Linked DNA regions of Homo sapiens: all the other regions are linked to region 1. The links are contacts of gene promoters, found by promoter capture Hi-C in blood cells and fetal thymus (Javierre and others, 2016). All regions are on one chromosome and are shown on one strand. Each heading gives the region's core, a stretch centred on a gene start or on the middle of the fragment in contact. The rest is flanking DNA. Distances are from core to core; before and after follow the strand shown. Region 1 holds the start of UPF1 (UPF1 RNA helicase and ATPase). Region 2 overlaps ELL (elongation factor for RNA polymerase II). Region 3 holds the start of ELL (elongation factor for RNA polymerase II). Region 4 has its middle 2.4 kb from the start of FKBP8. Region 5 overlaps ELL (elongation factor for RNA polymerase II).

The links. The method cuts DNA at HindIII sites, captures the fragments that hold promoters and counts their contacts. A CHiCAGO score of 5 or more calls a contact.
Region 2: a contact is called between a fragment that was not itself captured here and the fragment with the promoter of UPF1 in region 1, in 4 of 17 cell types (total B cells, naive CD8 T cells, naive CD4 T cells and 1 more). The highest score is 6.9, in total B cells.
Region 3: the fragment with the promoter of ELL here is called in contact with the fragment with the promoter of UPF1 in region 1 in 11 of 17 cell types (naive CD8 T cells, naive B cells, non-activated CD4 T cells and 8 more); the score reaches 12.9 in naive CD8 T cells.
Region 4: a fragment that was not itself captured here is called in contact with the fragment with the promoter of UPF1 in region 1 in 3 of 17 cell types (non-activated CD4 T cells, naive B cells and total CD4 T cells); the score reaches 6.0 in non-activated CD4 T cells.
Region 5: a fragment that was not itself captured here is called in contact with the fragment with the promoter of UPF1 in region 1 in 7 of 17 cell types (fetal thymus, total CD4 T cells, naive CD8 T cells and 4 more); the score reaches 6.8 in fetal thymus.

Annotation. Positions count from the first base shown.
Region 1 is chr19:18,830,611-18,833,310 of GRCh38, reverse strand. UPF1 (UPF1 RNA helicase and ATPase) reads right to left here and starts at 1,352. Exons shown (of 24, transcript NM_002911.4): 1 at 871-1,352. The coding sequence starts at 1,101. RefSeq lists silencers at 739-818, 829-918, 1,069-1,168, 1,289-1,548. The HindIII fragment of the contact is 13,345 bases long and covers 1-2,700 here.
Region 2 is chr19:18,481,948-18,484,647 of GRCh38, reverse strand. The region is part of intron 1 of ELL (elongation factor for RNA polymerase II); the gene reads left to right. Among named protein-coding and RNA genes, the nearest start is that of ELL, 39 kb to the left of the region's middle. RefSeq lists enhancers at 29-529, 530-1,030. The HindIII fragment of the contact is 4,478 bases long and covers 1-2,700 here.
Region 3 is chr19:18,520,744-18,523,443 of GRCh38, reverse strand. It overlaps ELL (elongation factor for RNA polymerase II), which reads left to right and starts at 1,374. Exons shown (of 12, transcript NM_006532.4): 1 at 1,374-1,523. The coding sequence starts at 1,389. RefSeq lists enhancers at 881-1,210, 1,354-1,869, 1,870-2,385 and silencers at 1,601-1,910, 2,641-2,690. The HindIII fragment of the contact is 8,691 bases long and covers 1-2,700 here.
Region 4 is chr19:18,544,634-18,547,333 of GRCh38, reverse strand. No RefSeq gene overlaps it. Among named protein-coding and RNA genes, the nearest start is that of FKBP8, 2.4 kb to the right of the region's middle. The HindIII fragment of the contact is 4,146 bases long and covers 1-2,700 here.
Region 5 is chr19:18,502,746-18,505,452 of GRCh38, reverse strand. The region is part of intron 1 of ELL (elongation factor for RNA polymerase II); the gene reads left to right. Among named protein-coding and RNA genes, the nearest start is that of ELL, 18 kb to the left of the region's middle. RefSeq lists an enhancer at 771-820. The HindIII fragment of the contact is 9,226 bases long and covers 1-2,707 here.

The sequences.
Region 1 (2,700 bases), core at 103-2,602:
GCGATGCAAGAAAAAACAAAATACAACCTGCTTCCTGAATGATCTTAATAGCCAGCCAATATGTGCTCCTCCATGGGAGGCAAAAATTCTTCTCTGCCTCAACCTTCCGCTGGCCAGCGCCCCTATGCATGGGGAAAGTCGAACCTACGCTCCGTGACTGTGAAAGGTGGGGTGCCCAGATGGCTGCGACCACAGATGGGAGGTGGGACAGGCGGCCAGACCCACCAATGGGGAGACCGGGCAGGACCCCCGGACCAGGCCAGAGACAGGATTAGGGCAGGTCACCCTGGATACTCCCGGAAAGGGACTGAGGGAAGTCACTCAAGCTCCGGCCTGAGCAAGACCCGGCCCAGGTCGTAGGAGAACTCGAGGCAGAATACCGAGACCTGCGAAAGAGGGACCAGGGCAGGTCACCCTAGCCCGGATGGAATGGAAGAACTCAGATAAGTCAGGGGGCAGGTTACTCCAGGCCAGACTGATTGTGGGACACAAGGCAGGTCAGCCCGGGCCCAGGAGGGGGAGCAAACCCAGCTGGCGTAAAGGAACAGGGTCAGGTTAGCTCGGTCCCGAACGAAGTGGAGGACTCGAGGCAAGTCTGCCCGGCCCAGGAGTTGGGGGCCGAAGGAACTCAGCCAGGTCGCGGCCGGAGCGGGGGACCCGGGGCAGATCAGGCCAGGCCCGGGCAGATTGCAGGACCTGGGGCAGGTAAGCTCAGGCCGAGCCAGAGTAGGGGACCCGGGGCAGATCGCCCCAGGCCCGGCCGCGATGGGGGACTCCGGCCAAACACAGGCCGGGCCCGAGGCGAGTTCGGGGCAGGTCTCAGGCGCCGAGGCCGGGCCCGGGCTTCCGGCACCGCCATGTGCCGCTCACCTGCGCGTCGAGCTGTCCCGCCGCAGCGCCCGCGCCCGCGCCGCCCGGGCCTCCCGCGCCGCCACCGCCCGGGCCGCCGGGGCCGCCGGGGGGCGTCTGCGTCTGGCTAGGAAGAGTAAAGTCGGTGAACTCGAACTCGGAGCCCTGTGTGTCGGCGCCAAGCAGCTCGGCCTCCTCCGTGTCCAGGAAAGTGAGAGTCTGCGAGCTGGGCCCGTACGCCTCCACGCTCATGGTGCCTCCGGGTAGGGCCCTCGGGCCGGTTCCGCGCTGCACTCGAGCCCGCCGCCGCGCTGAGGCCTAGGCCGCAGGCCTCGGGTCGCTGCCGCTGTCGCCCCCGCGCGCCCGGAAAGGACCAAACCGCGCGCCCCGGCGCCAGCCGGACCGAGAGGTAACAGTGCCGAGCCGCCGCCGCTGCCGCCGAGCCCCTCCGCGCCTCAGCTCCCCTCGAAGCCGCCAGCCGCTCGCAGCCTAGAGCAGGAACTGCCGCCACCGCCGCCGTCGCCGTGCGCGTGCGCGAGCCCGACGCCGGCGGAAGCGCGCGCGCTCTTCGCGGGCGCCTGGTGCCCAGCAGGAAGACGGGACGCGCACCGCGCACGCGCAGGGGGTGGGGCTTTCAACCGCCGCTGCGGCGGCAGCTCGAGGACTTGGTCCCGCCCCAACTGCTAATTGGGGACGCCCGGGCGGCTGGCGGTGTGGACTTGGTGGTCTGCACCTGTGGTCGCTGCGACGGTGTTTCGGTTTAATTGAGCGCTAGCCGAATACCCTACATAGGTGGTCTCGGAACGCCCAACTGGAGAGACTGGGCAGGGACGGTGCGCTCCCACTCCTGGCAAAAGCTGCTTGGAACTCAGTTTCCCCATCTGTAAAATGGAGGGTGCCTCGCACATAGTAGATGCTCCCTGTGCATTGGTTTAAAAAGGGAGTGGGGCTCGGCGCGGTGGTCACACCTGTAATCCCAACACTCAGAGGCTGAGGCGGGAGAACTGCTTGAACTCAGGAGTTCGAGACCAGCCTGGGAGACAGAGTGAGACTCCATCTCTACAAAAAATATAAAAATTAGGCCGAGCGCGGTGGCTCACGCCTGTAATCCCAGCACTTTGGGAGGCCGAGGCGGGTGGATCATGACGTCAGGAGATCGAGACCATCCTGGCTAACATGGTGAAACCCCGTCTCCACTAAAAATACAAAAAATTAGCCAGGCGTGGTGGCACGAGCCTGTAGTCCCAGCTACTCAGGAGGCTGAGGCAGGAGAATCGCTTGAACCCAGGAGGCGGAGGTTGCAGTGAGCCAAGATTGTGCCACTGCACACCAGCCTGGGCAACAGAGTGAGACTCTGTCTCAAAAAAAAAAAAAAAAATTAGCTAAGCGTGGTGGTTCGCACCTGTAGTCCCAGCTACTAGGGAGGCTGAGGTGGGAGGATCGCTTGACCCTGGGAAGTTGAGGCTGCAGTAAGCCGAGATTGCACCACTGCACTCCAGCCTGGGTGACAGAGCGAGACCCTGTCTCAAAAATAAGTAAAAATAAATGAATGGGGATAGTCTTACGTACTGGGCCTGGCACTTGGAAATGATGGTTGCTGCTGTTCCTGATGCCTCTGCCACTGTTATTATACCATTACTATTTTTGCTATGATTATTATTTAGTGGACGTATACAGCAAAACAACTGGAAGCACATGGTCTGTGGTGGACTCTAGACCTGACCACTTACCAGCTGTGTGAAATTATACAAGTGACTTAACCTCTCTGAGCCTAGGGTTTCTGTTGCCATTAAGGTGGCATAGGAAGCCTGGGCAAGGTGGCTCTTTCCTGAAATCCCAGCACTTTAGGAG
Region 2 (2,700 bases), core at 184-2,683, 350 kb after region 1:
TTGTTCTAAAGACAGTATCTCTCTCTGTCACCCCTGCCGGAGTGCAGTGGTGGAACCATGGCTCACTGCAGCCTCGATCGCCTGTGCTTAGGTGATCCTTCTGCCTCAGCACCTGAGTAGCTGGGACTGCAGGTGCGCATTACCACACCTGGCTAATTTTTAAATTTTTTATTTTTCTTTCTTGAGACTGAGTCTCACTCTGTTGCCCAGGCTGGAGTGCAGTGGTATGATCTTGGCTCACTGCAACCTCCCCCTCCCAGGTTCAAGCGATTTTCTTGCCTCAGCCTCCCGGGTAGCTGGAATTTCAGGCACCTGCCACCACGCCTGGCCAAAGTTTGTGTTTTTAGTAGAGATGGGGGTTTCACCACGTTGGCCAGGCTGGTCTCGAACTCTTGACTTCAAGTGATCCACCCACCTCGGCTTCCCAAAGTGCTGGGATTACAGGCGTGAGCCACCACAGCGTCTGGCTGCCAAACGGGATTCTGTGCCCATCACACTGGCACTTGCAGATTTGCTCTGTTTCAGACACTGCAGAGTGCGCTAGAGGGGACAGAGGGGCCTGACACTGTGGCCCAGGTGCCCATGGAGTGTACTTGTGCAGCAGGTGCCCACATACGACAGCGTCTTTCCCTGTTTGAAGAAAGGCAGATGCAAAAGGTGGAATAATAAGGGGGAAAGGCAAAGTTAAGGTGTTGGCAGGAGGGCTTGTGCCAGGCATGGGTTGCATGGCTCTGAGATGCACTGTCCTGGAAGCAGGCCTGGGCCATGCCTGGAGATTGACCCATGGAGGTGCAGGCAGGGTGGGCAGGGCAGGCAGGGTGCTTGTCCCTCCCTTGGAGGGAGACTTCTGTCTGTCTGATGAAGCAGGGCTCAGGGACATAGAAGCACTGTAACTTGAAGAATTGTGTAGTAAATGTTTGTCATATCCTGCTACCCTGGGATCATGTGAGGTTGGATAAGTTGTGAAATCTTCATGGGGACCCCAGGGCTCAGTTTTCCTGTGAGGTTGGGATGAGGTCTGCTGTGACCTCGGGCAGCCCTGTCCTCTCTCAGTACCTCATTTTCCTCAGTTGTAACAACCGGAACCCGATCCCATGCAGTTTAGGATGAGAGTGGGTTAGTGATGGAGGCTGGCCGTCTGTGGTACCACGAGTCCTTGCGTGTGATTTGGCTGTGATTTCTACGGACAGGGAGTCCAAGCAGCTCCCCCACCCCCAGCTATGACGCAGGAATGGACAGACATCTGAGGGGCTTCCCATGAGACACAGGCCACTTTCTGCTCACCTGCTGAGCGCCTTCTGGAAGAAGGACCTGGATAGTGTCCAAAAACCCTGCACTGCAACTGCCAGGTGGGCGGTGGCATCCGGGGAATATCCAGGGAGCATCTGTGGTCATGACCCAGGGTGCATGCAGACAAAGGAATCTGAGAGACCCTTCACTGGGGGCTGTGGCAGCCACGGGTGTAGGCAGGAGTTACCCAGAGCTGCTAGTTTGGGAGGGGAGAGGGGAGTTGGTAAAGAATGGCAGTTTGGAGGATTTTCCTAAAATAGAGCTATTTAAAAAAAAGATGGGAGTGTGATGGCTCACGCTTATAATCCCAGCACTTTGAGAAGTTGAGGTGAGAGGATCGCTTGAGCCCAGGAGTTTGAGACCAGCCTGGGCAACACAGGGAGACCCCCACCTCTACAAAAGAGTTAAAAAAACAACGTAGCTGGGCATGGTGGCACAGCTGCTTGGGGATAAGGTGGGAGGATTCTTGAGCCCAGGAGACTGTGGCTGCAGTGAGCTGTGATAGTGCCACTGCCCACTGCCTGGGCAACAGAGTGAGGCCCTGTCTCAAAACAACAGCAGCAACAACAACAACAACAACAACAACAACAACAAAAACCAAAAAGATGGGAGGAACTAAGACACAAAATCAAGACCCACCCATAAAAGAAAAAAATTGAAAAATTCCACTCCATCAAAATTAAGAACTTCTGTATTTTGAGAGATACTGTTAAGAGAATGGAAAGGCAGTCCAGGCGCAGTGGCTCACGCCTGTAATCCCAGCATTTTGGGAGGCCGAAATCACTTGAGGTCAGGAGTTTGAGATCAGCCTGGCCAACATGGTGAAAACCCGTCTCGACTAAAAATACAAAAAAATAAGCTGGGTGTGGTAGTACGCACCTGTAGTCCCAGCTACTTGGGAGGCAGAGGCAGAGGCAGAGGCAGAGGCAGGAGAATTGCTTCAACCCAGGAGGCGGAGGTTGCAGTGAGCTGAGATCACACCACTGCACTTCAGCCTAGGTGACAGGGCGAGACCCTGTTTAAAAAAAAAAAAAAAAAAAAAAAAAAAAGGAATGAAAAGACAAGCCATGGACTAGGAGTAAAATGTAAAATTTATCTGATAAAGCTCTTGTATATAAAAAAAAAAACCTCAAAACTTAGTAAGAAAATGACCCAATTTTTAAAAATGGGATAAAGATTTGTACAGCTTCACCACTGAAGCTAGAAGAATGGCACATTAGCCTGTAAAAAGATGCTCAACATGCTTAATCAGCAGGGAAACCCAAACATGAACCTCCACGAGCTGTCACTGCACCACACACCTACCAGAATGGCTGACATTTTAAATAAGCTGACAGCACTAAATGTTGACGTGGATGGGGAGCAACAGGAACTCTCATTCGCTGCCGGCGGCAGTACAAAATGGTACAG
Region 3 (2,700 bases), core at 125-2,624, 310 kb after region 1:
CTACTACTCGGGAGGCTGAGGCAGGAGAATTGCTTGAATCCAGGAGGCGGTGGTTGCAGTGAGCCGAGATCACACCACTGCACTCCAGCCTGGGCAAGGAAATCGAAACTCTGTCTAAAAACAAACAAACAAACAAAAACTGGGGGAGGTGGCTCACGCCTGTAATCCTAGCACTTTGGGAGGGCGAGGCGCGCGGATCACCTGAGGTCAGGAGTTCAAGACCAGCCTGGTCAACATGGTGAAACCCCATCTCTACTAAAATACAAAAATTAGCTGGGCATGATGGCGGGCGCCTGTAATCCCAGCTACTCGAGAGGCTGAGACAGGAGAATCGCTTGAATTCAGGAGACGATGGTTGCATTGAGCCGAGATAGCGCCACTGTTCTCCAGTCTGGGCTGATGAGCAAGACTCCGTCTCAAAAAAAAAAAAAAAGAAAAGAAAAGAAAATGGAAGTCTGGGCTTGGTGGCTCACTCCTGTAATCCTAGCATTTCAGCAGACCCAGACAAGGAGGATCAGTTTGAGTTCAGGAGGTCGAGGGTGCAGTGAGCCATGATGGCGCCATTGCACTCCAGCCTGGGCAACACAGCAAGACCCCTCAAAAAAAAATTAAAATAGGAAAATGAAGCTGGACTGCACCATCGCTCAGGGACTGTGGGGATGTAGGATTTTATCCTATTAAAAGTACTCATCTCATAAGAAAAAGTTTACCAGCTCCTCTTCCACCTACCGGTCCAGCACCTTCCCTGGGTGGAAGTCCCATCCACCCCGCCTAAGGGATGCCTTATGTGTCCAACCCAGCGTCCAACGCGCGCGCTCCGTTTACATAGCCACGCCCACCCTCCCGGCCCGCGGCGGGGCCTACCCACCCACGTGTTTCGAGCCGGCTCCGCCCCTCCACGCCCTCTCTGCGGCTTTCCACAGAAGCCAAAGACGGAAGACTGTAGAGATCTCATAAATAATGCATCACGTCAGCGGCTGTAGGGGCGGGGCTTTGACGCGCCTGGCTGGCTGAGTCAGGGTTATGTATAATACTATGGAGGCGGGGCCTGGAGGGGTGCGCGTGTTGAGGCGGAGTTCGTTCACGGAAGTGGCCACCCCTAGGGCCTGAAGAGGCGGGGCCATAAGTGCCTTATGAATATGCAACAACTTGGGGCGTTGACTGTGGGCCTTGTGGGGCCCTCATGGGGCGTGGCCAGGCGCGTCTCCTGAATAATGTAGTGCGCTGCCTGCCGGTGTGGCGGCGACTGTTGGTTTGGTCGGACTCGGGGGGCGTGGCCAGCCGCGTCTCATGAATAATGCAGCGCGTCAGCGGGCGGCGGGGCGGGGCGTGGCCGGCGTGGCGGCGCTGGAGCCGGGAAGGGGGCGCGGGGGAGAGATGGTCGCAAGATGGCGGCGCTGAAGGAGGATAGGAGCTACGGGCTGTCGTGCGGGCGGGTTAGCGACGGCAGCAAGGTGTCGGTGTTCCACGTGAAGCTCACCGACAGTGCCCTGAGGGCCTTCGAGAGCTACCGCGCCAGACAGGTGAGTGGCATGGCGCCCGGCGCGCCAGTGGGGAACGTCCGGACGCGGGCCGGCCTCGCGCTCCCCTCACTGAGGCGTCCGGGCTCGGAGACGCTAGGTCTGTGGTGCTGCTCGCGGGTCCCTGGGCCGGCGGGGCGCGGAGTGGGCGCCAGTCCGGCCTGGAGCGCTGAGAACCGCGTTCCTTCTCAGCACTAGGAGGCAATACAGGCGGGTGGCCCGGGGCTGCTGAGGGGCCCAGACTCGCGCGCCGGGCCCGGGGGGCGTCGGTGTCGGCACCTGGCGGCGTCCGGGGCCTTTCTGGCCTGCTGGGCACCTGGGCAGGGTCCAGTTTGCGCACCTGGCGGCGGGGCGAGGAGGCGGTGGGCCGCACGGTCCCGGCACCGTGATAGGGGGAAGCTGGGGGCTTTTCCATCTGGGGCCGGGGCAGCGCCGTTGGTGGGGGTGACTGTGTCTGTCCTCCTGGGAAGCAGCGATCGTCTGGGTGCCCGGCAGGGGGTGGTCAGCGAGGCACTTGTGGGGGTCTGTTCTGTCTGGGTGGAAGGCTTTGCAGCTGGGGGCTGGCTTTGACGCGTTCCGATGAAGCCACTCAGGTTGGGCCACTTTGGTTCTTGGGACGGGGAGTTTGGGCAGAAACTGACAGCTTGTCCCAGCTTTCTGCTCCCCTTACCCCCAGGTGACCCTCTCTCTCCGGAGAGAGGTTCCTTGGAGAGTGGAAGTGTTGGGGGCGGCTGTGATGTTATCCTCAGGGCACATGTAGGGGATCCCTGCCACCCAGGAGGAAGCTCTGGCTACCACATCTGGCCGCTGACTCTGGAACTTCTCAGAGGCCGATTTGGGCCCATCTGGGGGAAGTTTGAGGCGTTTCGGTTCTGCCACCTGGCTGGTGGTGGGGAGGGGAGGCTGCTGTGTATGTTCTCTTGGGCCTGACTTTGGGGCGCATCTGGGGCCGTGGTCAGAAACCTGCCTTTTTCATTTCTGTTTGTGTCATGGCCCCCCCTCCCCCCGTCTGTGCTGGGTCAGAAGTTGCAGATGACCAGTGGTCAGGTCCCGAGGGGAAGTGGTTTAGGAACCTTGTAACTCCTTTTCTGGAAATTGGGGGCTTCATTGCCCTAAAGGGAGTGGGGGTGGGTCTAGTCTCGGGCTCAGAGAGCCCTGCTCCCTGCGTGTGTGTGTGTTT
Region 4 (2,700 bases), core at 47-2,546, 290 kb after region 1:
TGCCAGCCATTATTATTATTGTTGGTGGTGTTATTTTATAGTTTATTTTAGTAGCTTATTAATTTATAATAATAATTATTACTATTATTTTAGAAACAGCGTCTTGCCTTGTTGCTCAGGCTGCAGTGCAGAACTTTGATCATAACTCACTGTAGCCTCGACCTCCTGGGTTCAAGGGATCCCTCCCACCTCAGCCTCCCATTTAGCTGGGACTACATTTTTAAATTTTCTGTAGAGGCCAGGTGTGACGGCTCATGCCTGTAATCCCAGCACTTTGGGAGGCCAAGGCAGGTGGATCACAAGGTCAGAAGTTCAAGACCAGCCTGGCCAACATAGCGGAACCCCCCCATCTCTACTAAAAATACAAAAAATTAGGCAGGCATGGTGGCAGGCGCCTGTAATCCCAGCTACTAGGAAGGCTGAGGCAGGAGAATTGCTTCAACCTGGGAGGCAGAGGTTGCAGTGAGCCGAGATCACACCATTGCACTCCAGCCTCACTAGACTCTGTCTCAAAAAAAAAATTAGTCATGTGTCATGGCAGGCGCCTGTAATCCCAGCTACTTAGGAGGCTGAGGCAGGAGAATCGCTTGAACCTGGGAGTCAGAGGTTGCAGTGAGCCCAGATCGTTCCACTGCACTCTACGTGGGAGACAGAGGGAGACTGTGTCTCCAAATTAATTAATTAATATTCTGTAGAGGCAGGCTCTCACTACGTTACCCAGGCTTAGGTTGCCCAGGCTGGAGTACGGTGACGTGATCTTGGCTCGCTGCAACATCTGCCTCCCGGGTTCAAGCGATTCTCCTGCCTCAACCTCCCAAGTAGCTGGGATTACAGGCATGTGCCACCGCACCCGGCTAATTTCTGTATTTTTCGCAGAGACAGGTTTCACCATGTTGGCCAGGCTGGTCTCGAACTCTTGACTTCAGGTGAACCATCTGCCTCAGCCTCCCAAAGGCTGTTTTTGAGACTGGGTCTTGCTCACTGCAACTTCCACCCCTGGGGTTCAAGCAGTCCTCATGCCTCAGCCACCCCAGTATCTGAGATTACAGGCATGCACCACCATACCCGGCTAATTTTTGTATTTTTAGTAGAGACGGGGTTTCACCATGTTGGCCAGGCTGGTCTAGATTTCCTGACCTCAGGTGATCCACCCACCTCGGCCTCCCAAAGTGCTGGGATTACTGGCATAAGCCACCGCACCCAGCCCTCCAGGTGATTTCTTACATAGCTCTGCTATGCTACCACCTTTAACCTCCCTTCCTTCCTCAGTGATTTCCGTGAGACCCCACCACTACCTTTTGTGGCAGGCACTGTGCAAGCCTCAGAGCTATAACAATGAGAAAGAACAAAGCCTTCCCAGACTTTGGGGCTCTGCCAGTGTAGAGGGCAAGGCAGAGGTAAATCAAAGCAGTGGCTCACGCCTATAATCCCAACAGTTTGGGAGGCCAAAGTGGGAGGATTGCTTGAGCCCAGGAGTTCGAGACCAGCCTGGGCAACATGGGGAAACCCCATCTCTACAAAAAATATAAACATTGGGCCGGGCGCGATGGCTCACGCCTGTAATTTCAGCACTTTGGGAGGCCGAGGTGGGCAGATCACAAGGTCAGGAGATCGAGACTATCCTGGCTAACACGATGAAACGCTGACTCTACTAAAAATACAAAAAATTAGTCGGGCATGGTGGCAGGCGCCTGTAGTCCCAGCTACTTGGGAGGCTGAGGCAGGAGAATGGTGTGAACCTGGGAGGCGGAGCTTGCAGTGAGCCGAGATTGCGCCACTGCACTCTAGCCTGGGCTACACAGCGAGACTCTGTCTCAAAAAAAAAAAAAAAAATTAGCTGGACATGATGGTGCACCTGTGGGCCCAGCTACTCAGGAGGCTGAGGCAGGAGGATTGCGTGAGCCCAGGAGATAGACATGGTTGCAGTGATCTGAGATCGTGCCACTGCACTCCAGCCTGGGTTTCAAAGTAAGACCCTATCTCAAAAAAAAAAAGGCAGAGATATAAGTAAACTAGTTTGGGAAGCCGAGGCAGGCAGATCATGAGGTCAGGAGTTCCAGACCATCCTGGCCAACATGGTGAAACCCTGTCTCTACTAAAAATATACAAATTAGCTGGGCATGGTGGCGGGTGCCTGTAGTCCCAGCTACTCAGGAGGCTGAAGCAGGAGAATCGTTGGAACTTAGGAGGTGGATGTTGCAGTGAGCCGAGATCGCGCCACTGCACTCCAGCCTGGCGACAGAGAGAGACTCTGTCTCAAAAAAAAAAGAGAAAGAAAAAAAAAAAAAAGGCCAGGCACGATGGCTCATGCCTGTAATCTTTGGTACATCGAGGTGGGCGGATCACGTGAGGTCGGGAGTTTGAGACCAGCCTGACCAACATGAAGAAATCCCGTGTCTACTAAAAATACAAAGTTAGCCAGGCATGGTGGTGCATGCCTCTACTCCCAGCTACTTGGAAGGCTGAGGCAGGAGAATCGCTTGAACCTGGGAGGCAGCGGTTGCGGTGAGCTGAGATTGCGCCATTGCACTCCAGCTTGGGCAACAAGAGTGAAACTTCTTCTCAAAAAACAAAAACAAACAAACAAACAAAAAACCCAAGTAAACTAGTTATGAAGTGGACGTTCATCAACTTCATTGTGCCAAGACAGCTAAAGGGGGCACCTGGTCTTGCCTTGGGGAGGTTGGGAGGGCTTCCTGT
Region 5 (2,707 bases), core at 143-2,642, 330 kb after region 1:
TGCACACCTGCCTTCCTGCCTGCCTGGGAAGTGGGATGAGTAATGGCAGTAGCTGGGGCTTATTGCCGGGTGCCCTTGCCCGTGGGAGGGTGTGACTGGCCACAGCATCCTTAGGATGAAGAATTGAGTAGAGAAGAATAGCAAAAGCTATCTTCAGTCCTAACAAGAGCCTAACTAGTTGGGATTGCATTTGCTGTTGGGTGAGCTGTGGCAGATGCAGAAGAAAGCACACCACAGAGGAGAGGGGAGGGGAGGAGAGGATGGGAGAGGAGTGGGGGCTACGGGACAGTGGCTTGTGTTCCCCTGATGTCCTGGTATGTCACTGCCCTCTGGCACACAGAAGTTGCCCATCGTTCTCAGTCGCCTGAGGTTTGGCCATGATGGCAGGAGGGTGAGATGTCCTGAACCTTGACCTGCTGCTCCCACAGCCCTGGCAGCCCAGAATAGTCAAAGCCTGGGTTGTCTCCACAAGGCAAGAGTTTTTTCCTCTGCTGGAGCTGTGGGCTGAGAGCCTCCTGTGCGCAGGCATCACACATCCCCAGGCCAGGTGGCTCCTCGGGTGCTCAGGGCTGTGGGGGCTTTGTGTCCCTCAGGCCCTGTCCACTGGACAGGTGGTGGCAGGGCTCCGTGGAGAGTGTCCCAGAGTAAATGGGTTCTGGTATATGCAGTGTTTCTCATGACAGCCCATGGGGTGTGTTGGTGGGGGGAGATATAGCTCATGTGCCAGTGTCACTCTCGGGCCTTGGCAGGGATGCAGCTGGGAGAGTTCTGTTTATTTAAAGTCGAGCCTCAGGTTTTCTGCTGTGACTTATTAACCCGTTGATCCACCCTGTGGGCGGTGCCAGGCTCTTCTGAGGCCTGACAGGTGGGCCTAACCTCTGCTGACCAATGACAGAGAGCATCACTGCTCTGATGACCGGACCCAGGCTGCAGGTTCTGGAGTCTGTAGCCACTTCCCCTTCCTCCCAGGCAGAGATGAACGTGACAGGGATGAGATGTACATGGCAATTTCAGATGGGAGTTGAAGAATGCTGAGCTCTGTAGAAAATGTAGGGGAAATTTAGCAAAGCAAGCCACGCGTCATGGATTTCAATCAGGATGTGACTTGAGATGTGGGTAATCCCGAGAGTCACAGATTGCTTTGGAAAAACAGAGCAGGAGTGGCCTCTGTGCGTCAGTGAGCACACCCTTAGGTAGATGGCTGACAGATGCCCTTTGCCCACCTCCCCTCCTCCTCAGCCTCACCCCTCCAGCCTCTCTGTGCCGTCCCTGGCCTGTTGGCACAAGTGGCTGAGGAGGCCAAAATGAAGTGATGCATGCTTAGCAGAGGTGCCAGCACAGTTGACCCCTGCATCCGCCGTGACAGCCCGCAGATCCTCTGCACGCTGCAGCCACCAGGCGAGGCCTCCCTGGATGCCGAGGAGTCAGTGCTTCAGTGAGCCCCTTGGATCAGGCGGGGGGATGTGAGTGAGCGGGTTGTCCACATGGATAGGAGTGGGGTCAGACCTAGCGTCTGGCCAGAGTGTGTGTCCTTAACCTTGGCCAGGCAGCAGCCAGGCCCCCACGTGTGACTCCAGTTAGCCAGGTGCATTCTGAACGGGAGTGATGAGTGACAGTCCCGTGGGCCCTCATCCAGCCTGCAGCAGGGAAGGCTCCCTGAGGAGGGAAGCTCGGCAGGACCCAAGGAAGGGTGGTGTTTCTGAGCCCTAGGCGGGTGCTTGGGAACAGCCCATTCTCCACTCCCGCTGGCTCCAGGTGGCCAGAGTAACAGGTCCCGTCCCTTCCCACCACTGCTCAGACATCTCCTCACAGCCCCTGAGTGCTCAGCAGCCGTGGCTCTGCACGTACCCTGAGCTCTGGGTGTCTGGGGCCACATCAGCTCACTTGGTGAACTGTTACTAGATGAACATGTGGTGGGGCCGGGTGAGGAGGAACGTGTGTCCTGCAATAGCCTGTTCTGTCTGTTCCATCACCTCCAAGAGCCCACATCCTGCCTGGGATTCCCAGTACGGGCAGCTCAGTTCCTCAGAGCCTGGCCAGACGTGCCCCCCACTTGCTGGGGCTCCCTCGCTCCTATGGGTCTGCTTCACTCCCTTGCTGTTCTCCAGCTTTGCCAGTTGCCTTTTCCAGAAATAAGACAGAAAAACTCTGTCACCTTCTTTTCATCCCACTTATCACCCCAGGGTGGGGGTGCTCCCTCCCAGATGCCATAAAGATACCCGCGGCCCTGACTGCTGGGCGGGCGGTGCCACTGGACACTCTCCAGACCACGGATGCTTACAGGGATGTCCCTGCGCTGGGTGCCAGCCTGGCACAGTGCGAGTTCCCTTTTCTTTTTAAGCCAGGTTCCTGTTTTACCACATTAAACCAGCTGTAAAGTGCCACTTTATAAAATAAGCAAGTGATAGGGAGCCACTCTGGCAGGGCCCAGGGAGCCGAGCAGTGCCTCCCAGCCCTGTGCCTGTGTGTGGTGGGTGTGCAGCCACTGGAAGTGCCGAGCTGCCTGCCTGGAGCGCTGGCCTGCCCTGTTAATAACCGAAGCTCTGCTGGGCATTGGCACACCCGGCCAGGTGGCCCCGTGGTTTCCCAAGACAGGGGCTTTTGGATTCCGCATTGATGGCCCAAAACTCCTTCCCTAAGTTGTCTCAGAAGCAAAAACAGGAAGGTCATTGGGTTTCTTTGCAGAACACTAACCCATGCTGCCACC